Regions from separate parts of the Homo sapiens genome. Here regions 1, 2, 3, 5, 6 and 7 are each linked to region 4. Evidence: promoter capture Hi-C in 16 types of primary human blood cells and fetal thymus (Javierre and others, 2016). All regions are on one chromosome and are shown on one strand. Each heading gives the region's core, a stretch centred on a gene start or on the middle of the fragment in contact. The rest is flanking DNA. Distances are from core to core; before and after follow the strand shown. Region 1 has its middle 44 kb from the start of PPP2R2B-IT1. Region 2 has its middle 7.3 kb from the start of PPP2R2B-IT1. Region 3 has its middle 14 kb from the start of PPP2R2B-IT1. Region 4 holds the start of PPP2R2B-AS2 (PPP2R2B antisense RNA 2). Region 5 has its middle 90 kb from the start of PPP2R2B-IT1. Region 6 has its middle 27 kb from the start of PPP2R2B-IT1. Region 7 has its middle 66 kb from the start of PPP2R2B-IT1.

Region 1 (3,800 bases), core at 635-3,134, 400 kb before region 4:
TGAGTAAGTTATTCCTCTCTGGGCCTCAATTAAGAGGATGAGATTAAGAAAATATAAACACACAGTTTGTCATGATGTTCTGGTGTGTAGCCCCATCAATTCCATATGTTTAGGTGATGGTATGCTAGAATTGGAAGGAAAGTTAGAGACAAATGGTATATTATCTTCATTTTACAGATGGGAAAACTGAGCCCCAGAGAGGAGTGACTTGTTCACAGTCACCCAAATAATAGATGGCAGGACCAGGCCCAGATTCCCAAAAGAGGACCCTTTGTCAACTCCCTTAAAAATATAGGAGATGCCGGTCAGGTGCGGTGGCTCACACCTGTAATCCCAGCACTTTGGGAGGCGGAGGCAGGTGGATCACGAGGTCAGGAAATCGAGACCATCCTGGCTAACACGGTGAAACCCTGTCTCTACTAAAAATACAAAAACTTAGCCTGGCGTGGTGGCGGGAGCCTGTAGTCCCAGCTACTCGGGAAGCTGAGGCAGGAAAATGGCATGAACCTGGGAGGCAAAGCTTGCAGTGAGCCAAGATCATGCCACTGCACTCCAGTCTGGGTGACAGAGCAAGACTCCGTATAAAAATAAAAATAAAAATAAAAATAAATACAGGAGCTGAGAACTTAAACCAGAAGCTTTTCTAGAGTGGGCTGTTGCGGGCTGGTCCTGCAAGATAAAAAAAATATCCTAAGGTTAAAAAATCTGCGAAGCACCAAGTCAAACTATTTAGCAGGACATGCCAGAAGCGTTAATATGCTAATGTTTATCATAAATCTCCCAAAAGGGAATTAGAGTATTTATATTTTGCCAAAATTGTTTAACCTCAAACTGTTTTTTCATTTTTTTCTTTGACTGTCAGATCTATGAACAGCTCACACAACAGTGTTTAATGGAATGCAACTGGGAAACACCAACTTAATTTTTGTTTTCTCAGTTTTCTGACGTATTTAGCCGTGGAATCTCATGTTTAAGAGGATAATAGGATAAATGTTTTGGGGAGCATACTTAGGAATGGCTTCACTGAGCAATGGACAAGGCAAAACTATCTTTGAACCCCAGTGTCCAGCTGACTTAAGGGCTACATTTGGATGGCCTACATGCCTGGAGAAGGTCAAGTATCATCAGAGGAAATTCAGCCTTGAGAAGGGTAAATTATTCATAATAGAGAGCTGTCTTTGTAAGAACCTTCTGAATGAGACCTGAAAGGTCAAGCTGTTACAATTGTTCTTTTTAGAGGACAACTCCTTTTATACAATATTTGAGAAATTAGCACAGATAGTAAGAGTTTAATACAATGAGTTAGGGAGTTAATGTCATTAAACAAAGCCAGAATTTTAGAAGTCAGACCAATATGGATTTGAATTTAGGCTGTGCAAGGTGTTAGCAGTGTGACTTTTGGCAAGTTACTCTAATTGACCTTCAGACTTCTTAAAATGGGGATAATAACATTAGTAAAAATTGGGATAATAACATTATCTATGGGAAAAAAAATGAAGACAGGAAATTGAAGGTGCCGTATATGTTCAGAATAATTGCTGATAAACCCCTTGGGGAAAAACTTGGGACCCCAAAGAAATGCTCAACTAACACAATATGTTCAATTAAGTGTTCTGCAGGGCAAAAGGATAAGAAATTCCAAGTGTGAGTGGAGGACTAACCTGGAAGTTCAGGTAGGAGCCAGTGAGTGGTGAGGCAGAGAGCAAGACAGGAGAAGGGGAAAGAGAGAAAAAACCTCACTTCACCCTCCAGATCCCTACTCCGTGGTGGTGCTAAGAAGAGGAACTCTGAGAATAAAAATGTTTGGGAGGAATTTTCACATGAAATTCCCTAGGCGATGTCAGCCCAATGTTTCACTACACAAAACCTCCATGAAGACAGCAAATCTCATGCAATGATTGTCTGCACTGATTCTGATTTTGATTTGATTTGATACCAGGTTATAACCACCACAGAGAGTTGTATAAGGACTCATAGGAAATGCCCCTAAATGGGAAGCAAAGCAAAGAGCTTGAGGTGTAGCTCACTTTATACAATTTGTTCTTGAATAATTGCCCCAATCCAATTTGTACACATTGAATCTTTTCTTGTTGAATTGCATCATCATCTCAAAGATGAGTCAGCACAGTAAAGGGGCCTGTGTTCTCTATTCAGCTCCACTAAGAAAGTCTGAGTGCCTTAGCCAGTTGCTCAGTCCACTGGGCCTTTGTTCATTCACCTGTAAAACAAGAGGTAGCAGGCATGGTGACTTATGAGACACATAATCTCATAAAAATGAGTTTGAAGTCATTGAGACCTGAGTTAGAGTCCCAGCTCTGCCACTATCTAGCTTTGGGCCTTTGGCAAGTTCCGCAGCGAACTTGAGGGTGATGAGAATCAAATAAGGTTATACTTGTAATTCTGAAATGGTATCTCTGATTGGGTCATCAATTGGTATTGGCTCCAAGGACTTTTTGCTTTAAGGTTGTTTTTTTTTTATTATTTTTATTTTTGCCCAGTCTGGAGTGCAATGGCGTGATCTTGGCTCACTGCAACCTCTGCCTCCTGGGTTCAAGCTATTCTCCTGCCTCATCCTCCTGAGTAGCTAGGATTACAGGTGTGTGCCACCACGCCCAGCTACTTTTTGTATTTTTAGTAGAGACGGGGTTTCACCATGTTGGTCAGGCTAGTCTCGAACTCCTGACCTCGTGATCCACCCGCCTTGGTCTCCCAAAGTGCTAGGATTACAGGCATGAGCCACCACACCCAGCCGCTTCCTTGTCTGGTTTTAATGCACACACATTCTCTTTCTCTCTCTCTCTCTGTCTACCAAATTCTTCTACCTTCTTCTGAAAAACAAAAGAGAAAGGAAACATTGGAAGCAAAGAGGAGGGAATGGGAAGAGTTGGCATGATCAATTTGAACTGACCCAAAGAAAAAAACAAGTGTATTGTGCTTCACAGCCTAAGTGTTTCTAGGGCTCAGAGTACACGTGTGGAAAGAAGAGCCCCAGCCATGTGCAGACTCAGAAGACCATACTAGATGGGAGTATGGGGGCAGGGATGTTGCGAAGAGTTTATTAACTCATTCCCTTCTTTTTGAAGTTCTAACTGGTTAAGAAAATTAATCCCAGACTAGCTAAATAAGCTTTTGCCAAAGTGTTTTCTGTTGAAAACACCTTAGATGGTGACTCCTTAATTCATTCTGTTCTCTAGGGACACACACAAGCAATGACCAGGAATTGCCAAAGCTAAAGTGAGTCAGACCACTTTATTTGACTAATAGGGACACCATAGAAAATCCCTTTTGCTTTATGATCCATTCCTTTGAAAAAAAATCTCCTCCATGGGGGACCAGTGTCTTCCTGACTATGGATTGCTTAAGTTTAAATATCCAGTACTGATGTTGGGCAGATTTTGGGCTGAATGCTCTCTGTAGATGACTGAACCAAATTTCAGGCTATAAAAATGGGTTTTCAATGGGTTAATACTCTTAACATATAAAAGGCATCACCAAACAAATATGAGGAAGGACAAGAAAGTACAATTTATGAAAAAGAATACACACCTGATAGTTATATGGAAAGGTGTTCAAGCTTCCTAGTAATTAAAGGAACAAAATATTAAAATAACAATGTGGTGCTAATTTTTACCTATCAGGTAGGCAAAAGTTAGAATCAAAAATAATATTTAAAGTTGTTACAGATAGAGCAAAATAGACACTTTTTTGGTGAAATAGTACATGAATACAATCTTTCTAGACAATTCATCAGCATGTAGCCCAGGCATTAAACATGCATGCCACTGGCTCAGCTATTCAAC
Region 2 (3,319 bases), core at 543-3,042, 360 kb before region 4:
GAATAACTTGATTTTTTTTTTGGTCTGAGCATCTGAGCAGATAAATTAATATCAATCAAGATGGAAAAAGCCTATAGGTGGAAGAGGCCCCAGGTGGGAACAGTTCAGTTTTGGGTATGGTGACTTAGAGGTGTCCTTTAGATTTCCAAGTGGAGATGGCATGTAGAGAGTTGGAGTTTGGGGGAGAGATCTGATCTAAAAAAATATATATATAAACCTAAAAAGGGCCAATAAATGGATGGGATTTAAAATCATGAAAATCGATGAAATCACCAAAGGAATAAGTGCAAAGGTTCAGAAGAAAAACTGTCACAGGAGCTGAGCTTGAGGCACAAGTAAAAAAAGACATGTTCCTCAGGAAACCAACCCCAAGCCTTGACTGATATGTGGAAGCACAGCAGATAGTGCGATGAATTATACATTTCAGCTTTGGGGACTTGAAGGTGGTCAGGTGTGGTGGCTCAGGCCTGTAATCCCAGCACTTTGGGAGGCCAAGGCGGGTGGATCACGAGGTCAGGAGTTGGAGACCAGCCTGGCCAACATGGTGAAACCCCGTCTCTACTAAAAATACAAAAATTAGCCAGGCATGGTGGCAGGTGCCTGTAATCCCGGCTACTCAGGGAACAGGAGAGAGTAGGCAGGAGAATCGCTTGAACCCAGGAGGCAGAGGTTGCAGTCAGCCGAGATCACACCACTGCACTCCAGCCTGGGTGACAGAGTGAGACTCCATCTAAAAAAAAAAAAAAAGAAGAAAGTATGGCTACAAGGTCTCATCTTCTGATCCATATAATGGCTGCCTGGAGTTCTGTCTGAGGAAGATTCTGAGACCATGTCTAGGGTTAGTGGGGAAGAAAGTTGCAGTCATTTAGTGATGTGTGCTAGAGTTGTGACAGGTGTAACAGCATGCAGGCAGCATCAGATATCCACCACTCCTTGCCTGCAGGAAAGGCCACAAGCCTAAGGATAGATGGCAAGCGGTGTTTAGAGAGTTCACTGAATGCTTTTACTTGCCGCAAGTTAATCTGCGTGGTTTATATCAATAGTACTATATAATCTGTTGCTGAAGTTATCTTATATGTGCAAGAAAGATTTTATTGCTCTAGAGCCACTAGCAAGTGTTGGACTTAAGTGTGTGAAAGGGGAAAATGAAGGAAGAAGAGAGAGACGAGTCAAAACCCAAGGCAAAGAGTGGACTTTTAGCTATGACTCTAGGAGGAGGTTGGGTAAATCCTCTTCCCAAAATGCAATGATAGAGCTGTGCAAAGTTGGAAACTTCAACTATTTGTGCTCTGGAAATCAGCCAAAGGCCTATGACAACCTGAGACGTGTTTATTTTTTAAAAATCATGGGACATCACTCAGGAACACTGGGAATCTGAGATGTTCTGACCTAGGGCTCCTCTCATCCACCTCAACCCAGCCTATAGGTTCTGCCAAGGTACAGCAAGCCATGATGACCAGTAGCTTCTCTGTAGATGTTGAAGGAGACTCAACCAGTTTGAAGAGCTGGGCAGTGCAGACACCAAGCAAAGTTGTCAATAGAAATGATCATCTTGGATGGGAGTGAGTTGGGAGGGCCATCAGCTCCATCAGCCTGAAGTTGCAGTTGTGATCAGAGACAGCATATTGCTGGCTGAGGCTGTGCATATGGGCAGTGGAGACTGAAGAGACAGAAGCCCTTTATATGCTTCTGGTTTACCCAAAGTCTCAATGCATGTGCATAGGAGACTCAAAAAGGTCCAGCAGATATCAGACTCAGGGGAGCTTGAAAAGAGCCTGAACTTTGTATATGCTCCTCTACCTGAAAATAGGTGAAAAAGGGCAAAGGATGGAAATCTTAGTGGTTTAAGGTGTTTGAACATAAATGATGTTCAATCATTAGCTGACCACTAAGGCTATACAGACACAGGAGCAACCTCTAGCAAGCCAAGTTTAAAAATAAAATCGGAGCCTGTGGTCCCAGCTACTCAGGAGGCTGAGGCAGGAGAATGGCATAAACCCGAGAGGCGGAGCTTGCAGTGAGCTGACATTGCACCACTGCACTGCCTGGGTGACACAGCAAGACTCCGTCTCGAAAACAAAAAAAAAGTAAATAAATAAATAAATAAATAAAATCAGGAATGTATATATATTTTAGACTAGCATAGGCATTAGTAGCCTAGGGGAAACAGATTTCACAGATTTAGTCCAGGAAAGTTACAAACAAAATACCAGCAACAACCACCATAAAGGGAAAAAAAATATCAGAATTCAGAGTCGTTGCAATGTGTTATCTTAAATGTCCCATTTTTAAGAAAAAAAAGTGTTACCCATACTCAAGAAAAGAAAAACAGTTAATAGAAACTCTGTGTTACCAAATATTCGTGGACAAAAATTTCAAGGCAGCTATTATAAATATTTCCAAAGAACTAAAGCAAGCCATGTTTAAAGAATTAAAGAAAAGTGGGGTAACAAGAGATCAACAAATAGATTCTTAATAAGGATATTGAATTTATTTTAAAAATACCAGGTGAAAATTCTGTAGCTGAAGGGTACAATAATGGTAATTTAAAATTTTTCACTAGAGAGTTCAACAACAGATTTGAGAGACAAGGAATCAGTGAACTATAAATCAATAGAAATTACTCAATCTAGAGAATGGTGAGAAAACAGACTGCAGTAAAATTAACAGGCCCTCAAAAACCTGTGGGACAAGCTCAAGCACAGAAACAACCATGTCAGGGGAATGTCGGAAGGAGAGAAGAGAAAGGGACAGAAAACCTATTTGAAAAAATAATGGCCAAAACTTCCAAAATTTGATTTTTTAGAAAATTAATCTATACACCCAAGAAGCTCAAAGAAACCCAAGCAGGATAAATACAAATAGATCCACACTTGAACACATCATTGTCAAACTGTTGTATGCCAAATCCAAAGAGAAAATCTTGAAAGCAGCAAGAAGAATAGCACGCACCATAGAAAGGTGAGCATCCATGCAATTAAGCTGGCTTCTCATCTAAAACCATGGATGCCAGAAGGAAGAAGAATAGCACATCCATACTGCAAAAAGAAAATAATGTCAAACAAGAATTCTGTATCTAACAAAACTATCCTTCAAAAATGAGGGCAAAATAAGGACATTTTTGGATAAACAGAGACTGAGCAAATGTATTGCTAGCAGCCCTGTTTTAAAAGATGTACCAAAGGAAGGAAGGCCTTCCGGAAATGGTACTCTATGATAGCACAAATCCACAGGAAAAAATGAAGAGCACTGTAAATGATAACTATGTTAGTATAAAAGATTCCATAAAATATATTTTTTCTCCTTTTTCCCAATTTCT
Region 3 (3,461 bases), core at 377-2,876, 340 kb before region 4:
TCAGCTGCATAAAGTGCAATTGACATTTCAAAAAATGTGCTAGTTTTAAATGTACAATTCAATATGTTTTGACAAGGGCATACAGTGTTGTAACCACTGCCACAGTCATGAGGTAGAACAGTACTGCCCAATAGACGTATAAGGTGAGCCAGGTACATAATTTAAAAGTTTTCCAGTGGCCACATTTCCAAAAAGTAGAAGAAAGATACATATATTGAGATATCACTCTGTGCCCCATAAATATGATGATGCATAATCATTATGTGTCAATTAAAAATAAAAGAAAAAGGCCAGGTGCGGTGGCTCACGCCTGTAATCCCAGCACTTTGGGAGGCCGAGGCAGGCGGATCACCTGAGATCGGGAGTTCGAGATCAGTCTGACCAATATGTAGAAACCCCGTCTCTACTAAAAATGCAAAATTAGCTGGGCGTGGTGGCGCATGCCTGTAATCCCAGCTACTAGGGAGGCTGAGGCAGGAGAATCACTTGAACCCAGGAGGCAGAGGTTGCGGTGAGCCGAGATCGCGCCATTGCACTCCAGCCTGGGCAACAAGAGTGAAACTCTGTCTCCAAATAAATAAATAAATAAATAAATAAATAAATGGAAAATGGTACAAGAAGCAGGTGAAATTAATTTTAATAATATATTTTCTTTAACTTAATATATTCAAATATTATCACTTTGTTATGGAATCAATATAAGAATATATTAAGGAGCTACTTTATGTCTTTTTTCACATCCATTCTTTCAAGTCTATTGTGTATTTTACACTTCCAACATATCTCAACTCAGACAATATATCTTTACTAGAAATACTTAATTTTTATTTAGAACTTATAAAATTCACAGCTGAAAAAATAGGTTCAAATGTCCAAATTGTTTCAATCCTGCTTACAAGCTTTCCATTATAACTTTTATTTCCATTTAAATTTTATTTAATTTAAATTATATGTAATTAAAATTTCAGTAGCTACATGTGGCTTGGGAGCTTCCATACTGGATAGCACAGAGAACATTTCCATCATCCCCAAAAGCTGACTCCTGCTATTTTGAAATCAATCCCAACCTACCACCACTGGGCACTAGCAACCAATGATCTGCCATTTGACTCTATAGTTTTGTCTTTTCTATAATGTTATATGAATAAAATCAGATTGCACTTAGCCTTTTGTTTGACTTCTTTCACTTATCACATTGATTTTGAGATTTATTTAGAGGGTATTTAATAGGAGTGAGTTCCTTTTAATTGCTAAGTAGTATTACATTGTATAGATGTACTATACCATTCACTAGTTGGTGGGCAGTTGGGCTGTTCCAGTTTTTGGCTTATAAATAAAGCTGTTAAGAACATTCAGGCCAGGAACAGTGCCTCATGTCTTTAATCCCAACATTTTGGGAGGTCAAGGTGAGATCATGGCTGGAGGATCACTGGAGGCCTGGAGTTCAAGACCACCAGCCTGGTCAACATAGTGAGATCCCATCTCTATTATAAAAATTTAAAAATTTAAAAATTTCAAACTTAAGACAAGAACATTCAAGTACAAATGTTTGTGTGGACATGCTTTTATTTCTCCCTAATAAATATGCAGGAGAGGAGTAGATTGAGATATGTTTTTATTTCTTCCTAATAAATATACAGGAGTGGATTGAATGGTGTGTGTTTAATTTTATAGGGGAATAACAAATATTTTCCAGTGTTCCATTTTCCACTCCCACCAGCAAAGTATGAGAGTCCCAATTGCTCCATGTCCTCACCAACACTTGACATAGTTAGTCTTGGCAATTCTAGTAGAGATGCAATGGTATTTCATTGCGGTTTTAACTTTCATTTCCTTAATGACTAATAATGTTGAGCATATTTTCAGGTGCTTATTTGCCACTCATATATATCCTTTGGTAAAATTTCTGTTCAGATATTTTGCCCCCATTTTTATCAGGTTGTCTTTTAATTATTGATTTGTAAAAGTTGTTTTAAATAGGCTGAATATAAGTTCCTTAGCAAACATGTTTTGTATATGTTTTCTCCCAGTCTTGGCTTGGGTGTGACTTTTTTGTATCTGGTTCCTCATGTTAATGTTAACCTGCTGCTGTTAAATGTGGTGTTACCATGACCTCCAGTACCATGTCCGTGCCCTCATTTTGACTCCTGGCACCTTTGGGTTCATCACTGTGTTCTTAACTGTTTCTGCTTTTCTCTCAAGGAGATGAAGCTACTTTTAGCAGTCTCTTTCATTCTATACTGAGGCTACAGGACTTCAAGCAGATGTCTTCAGCCAGTCTGTATGATCAGTGGTTACAACCATTACTCAAGCACCATATTGGTTAGACATGAGGTTTCTCCAAGAAGCTTACAACCTCTCTGGGCTATACTTTAGGACTCGGGGAACACGCTCCCAATACTGCCTGTGGAATTTTCTACAACTTTCCTCTAGTTCCATTAGTTACCTCCTACCCCAGGACTGGGCTTGATAAGCCTCATGAGAGGCTGAGTAGATATTTAATCTCTAGACTAAGCCTATTGATTTCCTACTTTCTGCCACTTGGTCAAACTTTGGTCTCCTTTTATAATAATGTTCTTATATAATAAACTTGCATTCTTTCCTTTTTCTTCCCCAGAATACTGACCTTTCATACTTTTAGGAACTGTGGATCAGTATTTAAAGGCAAGATTTTGATCTTCAAAAATTTTTTTCTCCTTCTTAGGCACCAGACTCTTACAGTTCATGAGTTAGAAACTCAAGAACAAATACAATACTTTGGTCTTTCTGGTTCTATAGGAGTGAGAGAGAGAGTGATGTCTGCATTCTACAAATACTAGCCTACTACAGTTGGCTCTCAGTAGTTAGACAAGTCTCTGAGAGGACAATCCCTGCAGAGACAAGAATATCACTAATTACTCTGAGCCAGGAAACCCCGGAGCATGTTTAGAAGATGACAATATAATGATCATTATGTTAGTCATGAAATGGGAAGAATCTATCATTTGGCACCATTTGGTACTGTGTGCCAACTCTGGCTTAAGCATTTTGCTCATATTACCCTGTAAGGTCAATAATTATTATCCCCATTTTGCTGTAGAGAAAACTGAGTATTCTGATACAACTTTAACTTTCCTGGGGTCAAAAAAATTATCAGTATCACTAGGATTTGAACTCCAGGTCAATCTGATTTTAAAGCATGTACTCTTAAGCATTAGAACAGTGGTTCTTTTGACTGGGCATGGTGGCTCACACCTGTAATTCCAGCACTTTGGGAAGCCAAGGGTGGCAGATTACTTAAACCCAGGAGTTTGAGACCAGTCCAGGCAACATGGCGAAACCCCATCTCAACAAAAAATATTTAAAAGTTAGACAGGTGTGGTGGCATGCACCTATAGTCCCGGCTACTCAGGAGGCTGAGGTGAAAGGATTACTTGAACCTGCTAGGTAGAGGCTGCACTGAGCCAAGATTGTACCACTGC
Region 4 (3,392 bases), core at 584-3,083:
CAGATGCACAAAGGCTTGCCATATGATGCTTGTATCATAGTGGGAGGGGAGAAACAACAAACATTTTAAATAAGATAGTTTCAGAGAGTGATACATGCAAGGAAGTAAATCATATATGACAAGGAAACACAGACCAGCCACTCAAAACTACTAGATAAGACAAGGAGAAAGGTGAGGCAGAGAAGACAGCCTCATACTTATAATCAATACCATTTATTAAGGGGTTAACTCTGTGCCAGGCACTGCTAAGTATTTTAAATACCCTCACAACAAACCTATGAGATGACGTTATCATCCCCATTTTTTAGATGGACAAATAAGTTCCAAGAGGTTTCTAACTTGCCCAAGATAAGAGCTGGGGAGACATGAAGGCAGAGCATGAATCCAAATGCATCTTACTACAAAGCTTATACCCTTAACCACCTATAAAGAATAACAAAACAATAAGGTGAGTCTTTCTTTTGGTCACCCAGAAGAGTCTGACTCAGACATTGTTGCTTCCTGGCACAAAGGACAATGAAATCCTTTCAAATACATGTGCTCTTCTGAAAATCAAATGCAAGGGCCTCCTGCTCAGTGAGGCCAGCCTGTATTTCTTAGTAGAAACAGAGTAGCCAACTGCTCAGGGCACATAAAAGCTATTTTAGGAGAAACCATCTCAGAATGGAAAAAGAAAGAAGGTTGAATCTTATGACATGATTTCCCCAAACACTGGTGGGGAATTGTTGTAAAATGTCTCATAAAATCCCATCATATGTACAAATGGCATGGACTTAAACAAGCTGAACAACGATTGAGTGAGTCATTGAACATTTGGGCTGGATTTCCAACAGCCAGGAGAGCCCCAGGCACAGTTCTTTGTTTACAGGTGCTAAACAATCCATCACAACCCCTCCTTTTAAGCTCTGTCCTCCCTCTCCCTAGGCCTACCTCTCTTGTCCTCCCTCTCATTCCCTTGATAGGTTAGTCTATGTGTTTTCTAATAACAGTTTCAGGTGACCGAAGTCATCTATCTTTCTGGACCTTATTTATAGGTAGGCAGATTCTAAATTTAGGCCTCTATAAGCAGCTCCAGGCAGACTGCTTGACATCCAAGCAATGAACAAAGATGAATGCAAGAGCACTGGGTGACTTAAGGTGTGCAGTAGATTTATGGAATGGTGGCTGTAGTCCAATTAAAAGAAATAAAACTTCCATTCTAATGCTACTACCCTAGAATTCACAAAATCTAAAATAACTGTTATTGACTTTACCTATACGTTGTCTATGAAATAAAAGTATCCTAGATCAATTAACATTTTCAAGTACTTTAGTAAAACTAACTCCCTGAAATTACATACATTCATCAAAGAGTTATATTTAGCCAGGTTTCACTAATAATAATATTAAGTGCCCAATAAACATCAGCATGTATCAGATCTCATCAGACTAAGTTTTACCACAAGCCTGTGGCATAGATACCATTATAACCACTTTAAAAAAAAAAAGGGAAGAAAACTGAGCCTTGGCGATTAAGTTTGCTGTCCAAGGGTACAAAAACCAGGCAGACACATGATTCAAATCTGAATTCAGAACCATCAAGCATACCTCAAAGACTGGAGCACCAGGCAAGGAAGCCGCAGAAGAAGTTGCTATGAAGGGGAGAGCATTCAATCAATGAGATGTCTTCAGAGTTCTCTTACATTAGATAAGGTCTCTATATTGGGTAGAACTCTACAAATGGTTTGATATTCTCTTAAATTCCCCCATACATACACACACTTCATTCAATATCCCCTAATGTCTAAGAATGTGGGCTTTAGAGTTGGATGGTCCCAGCTTCTGCCACTTTACAGGCTGTGTGGCCTTTAGCAAATTATTTAACCTCTCTAAGACTCATTGCCCTCATCATCTATCAAATGGCAATAACAATTGAACCTGACTCCTAGAATTGTTGTGAAGATTAAACGAAACAGTATACATAAAGAACTTAGAACATGGTAAGAATTCAATAAATCATAGTTATTCAAATGGCTGGCTTCTCTGATTCTTATCACCAGCTGAGTATGGCAAAATATCAGGACCTACTATGTAGTGTTTCATTTTGACAGGTGCAAGATTCCTTTATTCAAGTCAATAAAAACAACAGTAAGAGCAACAGCAGCAACACCAGCTAGTTTACTTTTTATTGAGCATATATCTGCCAGGTCCTGTAAGACATCTCTTAAAATCTTCCTAAGAAGTCTGTTTCCCATTTTACAAATATAGAAAGTTAGCCTGAAAGATGTTAAGCAGCTTGCACAGCTCATGCAACCAAAGAGGGCAGAATCAAGATCCTGAGCCTAGAGCTCCTAACCAGCATGCCTCACATAACCAGGATGCTACGCGTAACCAGCACACTACACGTAACCAGCATGCCACACATAACCAGCATGCTACACATAACCAGCATGCTACACGTAACCAGCATGCTACACATAACCAACATGTTATTCAATGAAACACTAGTCCCATGAGAGAATCTTCAGGGCAAAGGGGAAGGGGAAGCTCTGTGGTCATAGGAATAGGAGAATGCCCTTGCCAGGAGCATCACAATGGACACTAGCATAATAATGGCTCCAAGAAGTCTTTCCATATTCCCTATAGGGACTAGCACAGGTTTGAGCACTCAGTAGGCTACCAATAAAAAGCTCTAAATAATGCCATCCCTGCTCAAAAATATTCAGCCCACAAAACAGAGAACATAAGAAGAGAAAGCCCAGAGCATAGAAAAGATGAGAGGCTCATGGAGAGACATAGCTAATGAGAAAATCCTCAAGGCAGAAAAAGGCTGATATATTATGTGAGCCGAAATTGCCAAATTTTTCTAGATTTGAGGGTAGCCAAAACCTAAAACCCATAAAACACCTAGGAGCCATCCTCAGTTTCCCTCACTCCATTCTTGCCCACACTGAATCCATGGGCGGATTCTCTCTGTACACATAAGACCTGGCCACCAAATTCCAGAGCCTCCAGAAAAACTCGTGACCCCATCTATTTATTGCCATCATGCCACTGATAACTACACTGGTCCAAGCCACCGTCATCTCTCACCTTAACCACTGCAGAAGCCTCCAACTGCCCTTCCCGCTCCCATTCCTCCCCACAACTACAACCTAGTCCACACACAGCAACTAGAGTGACCTTCCCACCACCACCATAAACCAAAATATGTCAAGCATCCACATAAAATCCTCCAGCTGTACTTAGAATACAATCCAAATTTCTTATTATGAACTCTTAGCTCTGGACTGCACACTTCTCTAATCATCTCACACCACGCTTTCCTGCCACACTCTCTCCTTTCATGTTTGTTGAATGACCCGGTCTCTTTATCCTACCACGCTTGAACTCACAGCTCCCTTGCCTGGAAC
Region 5 (3,339 bases), core at 292-2,791, 450 kb before region 4:
GTAATTTTACATAATACTTTCAATAATTTTGTGCATAGACAGCAAGTTATATAGTTAGTTGTATAGTTATATATAGTTTATTTGTGATATATATGGTGATATATATGACATGTTAAAGGGTGATAATTTTTACAGACAAAAGTTAAGCAATGGAAGAAAATGGAAAGCTCCTATGTAGGGATGGGGGGGGCATTTATAATTTTAAATAGGACTGAAAGGGAAGGTCCTACTGAGGTGACATTATAAGCAAAGACATGGAGTAGATGAGAAAATAAACGATGTGAAAATTTGGGATAAGAGCATTCCAGGCACAAAGAAGAACAAAATCAAAGGCCATGAGTGTGCCTGTGACATATAAAATACAGTAAAGAGGCCAAGTGGTTGGAGTGGGCTGAAGAAGGGGCAGTAGTCGGAAAGGCATCCAGAAAGGTCACAGGAAGGGAGCGTGGCAAGGATTTTGGCTTTTTCCCTCAGTGACGTGGGCAGCCACTGGAGGGTTTTGAGTAGAGAAGTGCCAAGGCCTGAGTCAGGTTTCTGAAGGATAACCCCGGCTTCTGTGTGAAGAATGTTTGAGCAGGGATGAGAGCAATGGTGGGAGTCTGGCCATGAAGCAGCTCAGTCCAGGGTGGCAGCTGTAGAGTAGGTTGGGAGTGGCCAGATGTGTGAACCAACTGGATATGGAGTAAGTGTGAGACACATAGAGGAGTCTAGATCAGGGTCCCCAACTCCCAGGCCACAGATTACTACCGATCCGTGGCCTGTTAAGAACTGGGCCACACAGCAGGAGGGCAGTAGGTGAGCGGCGGGCAAGCAAAGTGAAGCTTCATCTGTATTTACAGTTGTACCCCATCACTTGCATTACTGCCTGAGCTCCACCTCCTTTCAGATCAGCAAAGACATTAGATTCTCATACAAGTGTAAGCTCTATGAAAACTGCATGAGAGGGATTTAGGTTGCACACACCTTATGAGGATCTAATGCCTGAAAATCTGTCACTGTCTCCCATCACCCCCAACATGGGACCATCTAGTTGAAGGAAAACAAGCTCAGGGCTCCCACTGATTCTACATTATGGTGAGTTGTATAATTATTTCACTACATGTTACAATACAATAAAAATAGAAATAAAGTGCACAATAAATGTAATGCACTTGAACCATCCCCGAACCATTCCCCCTTCCACCCTGCCCCAGTCTGTGGAAAAATTGTCTTCCACAAAACCGGCCCCTGGTGCCAAAAACGTTGGGGATCACTAGTCTAGCTGACTCTAAGTAGTTCATGTACTCAGTAACAACTGTTATTTGTTTTTATGTATTGCTGGGTTTGTGTTTGTGTATGTGTGCTTTTATGCACCATATTTATAGCCCTTTTATGTCAACCACAAAAATTGGAAATTCCTTCTGACAGATAAATGAATGCCCTTGTAAAGTGTGTATTTATGAGTACGCACACCTCACTTTGCTCTTGATTAAGATTCTTAACTTTACAAAGTGCATTCTCATCTCATTTAATAGTCACAACACCTCTGTGTTAGAATGGCTATAGTGAGTATAAAAAATGCTTAAATTATCTCCAGGTCCTATATATATATGTGTGTGTGTGTGTGTGTGTGTGTGTGTGTGTGTATGTGTGTGTGTATATATATAAATATGTATAAATGTGCCTCAGAAAGTTAGGAAATAACCACTTTAACAATAATTTTACACTTGGGATAGTTGTTGAATTTGTAGCCATGTCTATGTATGCCAAATATCTGTATGTAACCTTAAAGTCTGTGCAATATTAAAATGAATTGAAAACATGTGAAGTGATATCTTTAGGTTTTCAGTTTTTCTAAAATTTTTGGTGTAGCTTGCATGTCCTAAAAAAAACTTGAGTTTTCCCATCATTTGTCTAGATGTAAAAGTAGGATGTAGATACCTCTGCCAGCAAACTTAATCTTTCCTTCCACCTCATCCTTCGTCTTATTATTTTTAAAACTGTATACAACATGTCAAGTTCTAGATTAAGTATTAGAATTTCAAAACAAAGAGGATTTAGATTATCTGCTTTCAAAGAAATATGAATTATCTAAGTATGTATCCCCTACCTCATTCATACAAGGATTTAAAGTGTCTTACAGAAGTATATAGGCAAAAGGGAAAAAAATAGAGGTGAGACTAAAAAGTAAATAAAATTAGGAAAATAATGTGAAGCCAGGAATGGGATCAGCATTAAAATGCACATCAAAACATTCTATTCAATGTTCACTCCAAGCTTTTTCCAAGCCAGGGTAAAGAGGAAAACAGAACAGAATTCACTGCTATCAACATGATGAAAGCTCACCAGTTGCTTATAAATAGTGTAGTTTTTCTTGATCTTCAATCATGAGAACAATTTCTCCAGCAGGTAATAAAAGCACATGGCCAGTTTTTTCTAAGAGCTTTCTAAAAGTAATGCAGCAATGGATTTTATGGTGATCATTTTTATAATATTTCTTAGTTCAGATAGATTACACACCATTCAAGCATAGATCAGTAAAGAGGCCCAAACGGTGCAATCTAAGGACGATGTGAATATCACTTCCCACACTGATGCTTTTCATAAGAACTGAGTAGCAGAATGATCAGGTTCTCTGGCCAAAAGCTAAGTTTCTGTTATTTTGCTGTGATTAAAGTTTGACAATCAACAAAACAGAAACTAGAGTTGAGCTCCTTCAGTGGGATGTAAAGAACTTATCAAAGATGATGTGTGGGAATAGAAACCCTCAAACATCTGAGGTGTGCCTTAAATGAGGCTGACTCCTCTGTAACAACCACAGGGACATAGGAGTGGGGGGTGGGGTTGAGGAAGGCCTCTTAGAAGAGGTGACTCTTGAGCTAGATCTCAAAGCATGAATAAGATTTTGATATGAAGAAGCATGGAAGCCCATTTTATATAGATAAACATCTCAACCTATGCAGAAGGGAGTAGGTTCACAGAGTATGTTGGCAAACAGTGGAAAGTCCTATTGAGTTAGGACAAACAGTGATCAGTAGCAGGCATGAGGAAAGACAGCATAGACACCAGGGTGAAGATTTATGAATAGACCTTCATAAGGTGTTTCATAAATATTTTATGAATTAAAATATTTTATGAATAAATTAACATTTATTCATAAATGTTTTATGCATAGACCTTCATAAGCCTGTGTTTCCTCCCCCTATCCCTTCATCTCACATGGCTTTCTAAAGAAACTAGAGCCTGACAAAAAGTCCATAAGTTGGGAGCACTAATTTATTAAAAAATTTGACAACTAGTCACTACATTTACACAAACCATGGCTTCCCTCTCAAGATCCAATGAATGTCATTCTCTGCT
Region 6 (3,375 bases), core at 489-2,988, 380 kb before region 4:
ATTAGAAACTAGAAATATAATAATAATAGCTAATATTTATTGAAATTTTACCATCTTCCAGGAACAGTATCAAGGACTTCACATGCATTAAGTCATTTCATCCTCCCAACTAACCTATAAGACAAATAGGTATTAACATTATCCCTCGTTGTATAAATGAGGAAACCAAGGCACAGACAGAGTAGATAATATATTTAAGCCAAACACCTAGGAAGCAGCAGAGCCAGTGTTTAAACCCAGGCAGTCTGCATCCAAAGACAGCTCATGCCCGTAACAATGTTTCCTGCCTCTGAATGTTGAATAAACATAGTCCCCAGTCTTAAAGCCTCATGGGAGAGACAGACAGTCTCAAAAAGTATTTGCATAAAGTGTTAAGGGTTTATAGGGTAAGGGAAACGATTATATGAACACAGCATGGCAAGTTTTAAATTTTGCCTTGAGAGGAGTAGGGGAAAAATATGAATGAAGAGAACTTGGCTTAGCCACACAACCCTGTGGTCTCATGAGTGCATGCCTTTGCTTATGCTACCACTTCATTAGGAATCCCTTTACAGAGAAGGTGATTGGGTTGAACATGAAAGGTGATTAGTGGGATTTCGCCTTGAGGAAAAGAAGAGAACGCAAGGGCATTCCTAATGAAGTGGTAGCATAAGCAAAAGCATGGACTCATGAGAACACAGGGTTGCATGGCTAAGCCAAGTTCACTTACAGCGGCTCCAAAGAAGGAAGTGGTAGATGGTGAGATGTGAAAGGACAGTGGTGAGAAAGGTGCATATGGCCGTTAGATCTCTCACAGAAAGTCTAAGTGATTTGAGCAACAAGAGAATGTATTGCCTCATCAAGCAGTCACAAAATAGGGCTGGCCCCAGGTATATAAGGCTTTAAACCATATGTTTAGTTAGGCACCTTGTGTCTTTCTTCTGGCCTCTCAACTTGGCTTCTGTCCCATTGGCTCTGTTCTCTGGCTGCAGCTCCAAGCCTCAATCATCTCATTACACAAAGCACCAAGCTCAGCGACTGAGACAGTCCACTTCTCCAACAGTTCCAGAAAAAACAGGAAATGAATTTCATTGACCAGATTTCAGTCACGTGCTGGTCCCTGTTGATCCTGATCCAATCACTAGAGGGCAGACTGCACAGATGTCTAAACCACATATTCAGGCTTTGGAAATTATGAAGTAGGCGCAAAGCACATGCAGGTAGAATAATGAAGAGATAGACCCCAAAGTAGAATTGGGGTGCTGTTGTCACAAGAAGAGAGCATAAATGCTGTGCAGAAATATAACAAATATCCACTGAAGTTGAAGTTCACATTTTGAGAGATCCTGAATGTTGTCTGTAAACTAACCAAGGCATCTGCCTCATATTATGGAATTTTTCCCTAAACGTTTAGTAATGAGCTTTGTCTGATTACTGACCTTGTGTAGATCTCTGGTTCCTTGGGGCTGAAACTGAAGAGCAGGTTGCTGTCTTTCCTTCAGTTGTGAGGATGTTCAACATAAAACAAGATGCAGGATTGAGCCTTGACTTTGGCTTTCTTGAGAAACACCCTCTCAGGCTTTCTCTGCTGAGTATTTTTTAAAGCTGTCTAAACGGATACCCCCACCCCTACCCCAACCACCCAATTCCCGTCCTATTGGCAGCCACTTTAGAAGGGAAGTGTGTGAGATGGGAATTGTTTAGATGGAAACAATCCTTCTGTAATGGCTTCGGCCTCCTCTGGCATGAATTGAGCATTTACAGTAGTGAAGCCATGTTTTATTTATGTTATTTCCTCAAGACCTCTGGTTAGCTTCTCAATTTGCAATGCAAATTAGACATAGAAAAGATTTTATATACTCTACATACAATTCTCCATACATCCACATTCAGTGACAAATTGTAATCTTTCGGCCTAACAGTTCTAGTGTAATTTTAGATAATAAAAATATTCACCACTTACAGTTCTAGCTTATGCTAATAGACCCACAGTCATCAGAGATGCTGAGACTAAGCAACAGACTTGGGACTCAGAAAAGTAACACTATTGATTGCACTGCCTTTTGAAAATGAAACTTGCAATGAAAGACTCTAACTTACACCCCAGAACTTGGAAGGAGGAGCAATTACCATGAATTCAAGCATCACTTGGCATGTGAGCTCTTGCTGTTGTCCTATCATACTCCAAGCAGTGGTGGGGGGACAGGGGGAAGACAGATATCAGAGCCACCTTTGAAAGATGGGAAAAAAAGACTTGTCTCTCTTCATCTGGTACTGCTTCAAGTTGATTGCTGAAGTGTGCACAGGGGTAGTTGGGCTATACTCGCTACTAGCTAATTGTATGTCCTTTTGTGTAAAGCTGTTGCTTAAGCGGCTACAGCGTTAAAAGGGAACACAGGGATAAAGAGATTTTAGATAAATCATTTTATAGAATCCACATGACTAACGGCTGGCTTGGCTCAAAAACTAAATTGTGAATTAGAATCGATAGCCCAAATGTAACAAATCTCACTCAGCCTCTGGTCACACTTCAGTCTCTGCACAATCCCAATATTTGTCTTTATAAGGTAAGAGTTGCCAGCAGCTGACGACACACTGACCATTAGGCAGGGGTCCATAGTAACACCTGGCTATTAGAAAGATCTGACACGTGTCTCAGCTCATTCTTGGAAACAATGGTTCTTCTTGCATACCATCAGTAACATTCTTTCTCAAATCGAATTGCCTTACACAATGATTTTCTGTCTTCAAAAATTAGACTTATGTGCACACAATATAAAACTATGTTATCCCTGATGACAAGGCTGAAAATGCTTTCCCCCACTGTCCTCTAAACTTTAGGAAAACAAATTGCTATTTTTATTTCCTATTGCCTCTCCAGTGGGTGCACCCTGGGCACACAGCCCTTAAAAAACATCATCAGCAGCTGCTATAGCAGCACAACTTTAGCTTCTTGTTACGAAAAGCCTCTGGGTTGCAGTGGGGAGCAAGGTAGTCAATATATCGGACTTGGACAGTGCCCAAACAACTATTACAATTCAGACCATGATTTCTGGCCCAATTCTGGAAAAGTATTTGCTTTCCAAGATAAAAATCTGTTTGGCAGAAAAGAAATGTTTGTTTTAAAATAAAATCCATTTGGTTAATAATTATCCACCCAGTTTTAGGTTGCTTTCCTCATTTCTGTAAATAAATTTTCCTACATTGCCTCTCCCAGTGATTGATGAAAAGTGGACTTAAATTTTGAGGAAGGAACCTGAAGAACATATCCAAGTCCTCACTACCCTGTTTGGTAATAGTTGCATCTAATGTCTTCTATTTTTCTTCCTGAATTAACTAGATAGTATAGTGTGTAGGAAGTACAAAGCAGGTATTCATCAGGAGTTACAGAGATTT
Region 7 (3,314 bases), core at 800-3,299, 420 kb before region 4:
TTGCTGTGTAACCTGCTGCCAGACATATTGGAGCTCCTTTATCTGTTGTTTTCTTCTTTTCTCTTGCTGCTTTCAGGATCCTCCCTTTGTTTTTGACATTTGAGAGTTTATTATATGCCTTAAGATAGTCTTGTTTGAGTTGTATCTACTTGGTGGTCTTTGGGCTTCCCCTACCTATTTATATATTTCTCTTTTGAAAAGTTTTTTGTTATTATTTCTTTAAATAAGCTTTCCACCCATTTCTCTTTTTCTACTCCGACTTTAAGGGCAATGACTCTTACATTTGCTATTTTGATACTATCTTATATAGCTCATAAGTGTTCTTTGTCCTTTTGCATTCTTTTTGCTTTTCCCTCTCTGACTGTGTATTTTCAAATAGCCTGTCTTCAAGCTCACTGATTATTTCTTCTGCTTAATCAGTTCTGCTATTGAGACCCTCTACTGTACTTTTCAATTCATCCATATTTTTTTACTCCAGGATTTCTGTTTTTTTATTAATACTTCAATATCTTTGATAAATTTCTCTGATAAATTTCTGAATTGCTTCTCTGTGTTTTACTGAAATTTGTTGAGCATCTTCAAAATAGCTATTTTGAATTTCCAATTTGCCTTCCGCTGCAATTTATTCAGGACCTGAGGACACTTGAGTCAGCCAATGGTGAAGTGTTTCAGGGCTCAGTTTCTTCCAGCTGCAGCAGCAGATTCCATTTTAGCCAGGGATAGGTCTAAGTACACCCTCTGTGGACATTGGCCTGGAATCAAGGGCTGCAGGTTTCTATTCCATGTTGTATTTTTCTGTGGCAAGTTGGTACTAAGTTCCAATGCAAAGTCTCACACACACTTTTCTCTCTCTCTCCCAAACTGATAGATTCTTTCTCTGCACTGTGCTGTACTGCCCAAGTTTGGGGGAGCAGTGTACAGGCAATGTGGGACTGTCCTTCCTCCCCTCTCCAATGTGCCTCTTCTTGTTATTATGGTAAAATCAGGTAGTATGATCTCTCACCTGATTTCTTTAGTTCTTGTGAAGGTGTTGTCTTACATGAATTATTATTCAATTTGATGTTCTTGTTGGGGGATACTTGTCAGAGGGTTCTATTATGCCATCTTGCTCTACCTTTTCCTGTTCTCTTGATTTCTTTTTTGTATAGTTTGTTGTTTTTGTATAGAAATGATACCAATTTTTGTGATTTTGTATCCCACAACTTTAGTGTATTTTTTAATTAGTTTAACAGTTTTTTGAAGGAGTCTTAGGATTTTTATATAAAATTATGTCATCAGCAAACAGTGACAATTTTACTTCTTCTTTTTCTATTTAAATGCCTTTTCTTGTTTCTCTTGCCTAATTGCTCTGACAAAGGACTTTCAATACTACATTGAATAATAAGTGGTGAGAGTGGACATGTTTGTCTTGTTCAAGATCTTAGAGGGAAGACTTTTCATCTTTTATTTTTGAGTATAATGTTAGCCGTGGGCTTATCCTATATGGCCTTTATGGTGTTGACTCAAAGTGAATTAAAGACTTAAACATAAGAACAGAAAGTGCAAAGCCGCTAGAAGAAATTATAGGAGAAAAACTACATGACATTGGTTTAGGCAATAATTTTTTGAATTTGACCCCAAAAACACAGATAACAAAAGCAAAAATAAACAGATTGGATTATATTAGACTTAAAAAGCTTCTGCACAGTAAAGGAAACAACTAACCATGTAAAGAGACAACCTATGGATGAGAAGAAAATATTTGCAAACTAAGGCCAGGTGCAGTGGCTCACGCCTGTAATCTCAGCACTTTGGGAGGCCGAGGCAGGTGGATCACGAGATCAGGAGTTCGAGACCAGCCTGGCCCATATGGTGAAACCCTGTCTCTACTAAAAACACAAAAACTAGCCAGGCATGGTGGCACATGCCTATAATCCCAGCTATTCAGGAGGCTGAGGCAGAAGAATTGCTTGAACCTGGGAGGCATAGGTTGCAGTGAGCCGAGATCACACCACTGCACTCCAGCCTGGTTGACAGAGTGAGACTCCGTCTCAAAAAAAAAAAAAAAAAAAAAGAAAAAGAAAATATTTGCAAACTATACATCTGATAAAGGGTTAATATCCCAAATATATAAGAAATTGAAACAACTCAATAGAAAGAAAACAAAGAACAGAATTTTACAAGGAGCAAGGGACCTGAATAGACATTTTTCAAAAGAAGGCATGTAATACAAATAGTCAGCAGATATATGAAAAATGCTCAACATTTGTAATCACTGGGAAAATGCAAATTAAAGCCACAAGAAATATCCTCTCACACCTGTCAGAATTACTTTTATTAAAAAAAAAAGCCAAAGATAAGTGTTGGTGAGAATGTGGAGAAACAGGAACCCTTGTACACTGCTGGTGGAAACGTAAATTTATGGAAAACAGTATGAAGCTTCCTCTAAAAGTTAAAAACAGAACTACCATATGATTCAGCAATCCCACTTCTGGATATTCACAAAGACATTAAAATCAGTTTGTCAAAGAGATGTCTGCAGTCCCATGTTTATTACCACACTATTCACAATAGCCAAGTTATGGAATCAGTCTAAGTGTCCATCAACAGATGAATGGATAAAGAAAATATGGCATATATACATCATGGAATACTATTTAGTCTATAAAAAGAAGAAAAGTATCATTTGTGACAACATAGATGGAACTGGAGAACATTATGCTAAGTCAAATAAGGCAGGCACAGAAAAATACATGTTCTCACTTACATGTGGAATCTAAGATGATCAAACCCATAGAAGCAGAGAGTAGAATGATGGTTACCAGACCGTGGGAGGTTGGAGGAATGAGAAGATGATAGTCAGAGCATACAAAGTCTCAGTAAACAAGAGAAATAAGTTGGGTGGTGGTCTTTTTCTGAGATCTATTGCACTGCATGTTTAATATAGTTAATAATGTATTGTAAATTTCAAAATTGCCAAGAGAGTAAATTTCAAATGTCCTCATTATGAAAATGACAAGTATTTGAGGGGATGGATATGTTAACTAATTTGATTTAATTGTTCTATATTGTGTTCATAAATCATAATATTACTTTGTACCACATAAATACATTTAGTTATAAATTATTAATTTATAATAAAAATGTTTAGAAAGAATAAAGGGAAAATTAAGACATTTTCAGATGTTGGAAAAGAAGACAATTTGTTATCAGCCAATCAACCCTAAAGGAATGATTAAAAGAAATCCTCTAAAGAGAAAAAAAATTATAAAAGAAGAAATCTTACCTTATGAGGAAGGAAGAAAAAAGGCAATATACAAAAATGTGGGTAAATA

Evidence for each region. The method cuts DNA at HindIII sites, captures the fragments that hold promoters and counts their contacts. A CHiCAGO score of 5 or more calls a contact.
Region 1: a contact is called between a fragment that was not itself captured here and the fragment with the promoter of PPP2R2B-AS2 in region 4, in 16 of 17 cell types (total CD4 T cells, total CD8 T cells, naive CD8 T cells and 13 more). The highest score is 36.6, in total CD4 T cells.
Region 2: a contact is called between a fragment that was not itself captured here and the fragment with the promoter of PPP2R2B-AS2 in region 4, in 5 of 17 cell types (total CD4 T cells, naive CD4 T cells, naive CD8 T cells and 2 more). The highest score is 6.3, in total CD4 T cells.
Region 3: a fragment that was not itself captured here is called in contact with the fragment with the promoter of PPP2R2B-AS2 in region 4 in 6 of 17 cell types (naive CD4 T cells, total CD4 T cells, total CD8 T cells and 3 more); the score reaches 8.6 in naive CD4 T cells.
Region 5: a fragment that was not itself captured here is called in contact with the fragment with the promoter of PPP2R2B-AS2 in region 4 in 5 of 17 cell types (naive CD4 T cells, naive CD8 T cells, total CD4 T cells and 2 more); the score reaches 7.8 in naive CD4 T cells.
Region 6: a contact is called between a fragment that was not itself captured here and the fragment with the promoter of PPP2R2B-AS2 in region 4, in 14 of 17 cell types (naive CD8 T cells, naive CD4 T cells, total CD8 T cells and 11 more). The highest score is 17.6, in naive CD8 T cells.
Region 7: a fragment that was not itself captured here is called in contact with the fragment with the promoter of PPP2R2B-AS2 in region 4 in 12 of 17 cell types (total CD8 T cells, total CD4 T cells, naive CD8 T cells and 9 more); the score reaches 16.2 in total CD8 T cells.

What each region holds. Positions count from the first base shown.
Region 1 is chr5:146,961,328-146,965,127 of GRCh38, reverse strand. It overlaps a transcript of PPP2R2B not described here. Among named protein-coding and RNA genes, the nearest start is that of PPP2R2B-IT1, 44 kb to the right of the region's middle. The HindIII fragment of the contact is 2,488 bases long and covers 641-3,128 here.
Region 2 is chr5:146,925,166-146,928,484 of GRCh38, reverse strand. It overlaps a transcript of PPP2R2B not described here. Among named protein-coding and RNA genes, the nearest start is that of PPP2R2B-IT1, 7.3 kb to the right of the region's middle. The HindIII fragment of the contact is 7,230 bases long and covers 1-3,319 here.
Region 3 is chr5:146,903,449-146,906,909 of GRCh38, reverse strand. It overlaps a transcript of PPP2R2B not described here. Among named protein-coding and RNA genes, the nearest start is that of PPP2R2B-IT1, 14 kb to the left of the region's middle. The HindIII fragment of the contact is 1,449 bases long and covers 902-2,350 here.
Region 4 is chr5:146,561,667-146,565,058 of GRCh38, reverse strand. PPP2R2B-AS2 (PPP2R2B antisense RNA 2) reads right to left here and starts at 1,833. Exons shown (of 6, transcript NR_188288.1): 1 at 1,588-1,833. The HindIII fragment of the contact is 13,845 bases long and covers 409-3,392 here.
Region 5 is chr5:147,008,151-147,011,489 of GRCh38, reverse strand. It overlaps a transcript of PPP2R2B not described here. Among named protein-coding and RNA genes, the nearest start is that of PPP2R2B-IT1, 90 kb to the right of the region's middle. The HindIII fragment of the contact is 1,435 bases long and covers 824-2,258 here.
Region 6 is chr5:146,945,115-146,948,489 of GRCh38, reverse strand. It overlaps a transcript of PPP2R2B not described here. Among named protein-coding and RNA genes, the nearest start is that of PPP2R2B-IT1, 27 kb to the right of the region's middle. The HindIII fragment of the contact is 4,830 bases long and covers 1-3,375 here.
Region 7 is chr5:146,983,757-146,987,070 of GRCh38, reverse strand. It overlaps a transcript of PPP2R2B not described here. Among named protein-coding and RNA genes, the nearest start is that of PPP2R2B-IT1, 66 kb to the right of the region's middle. The HindIII fragment of the contact is 742 bases long and covers 1,679-2,420 here.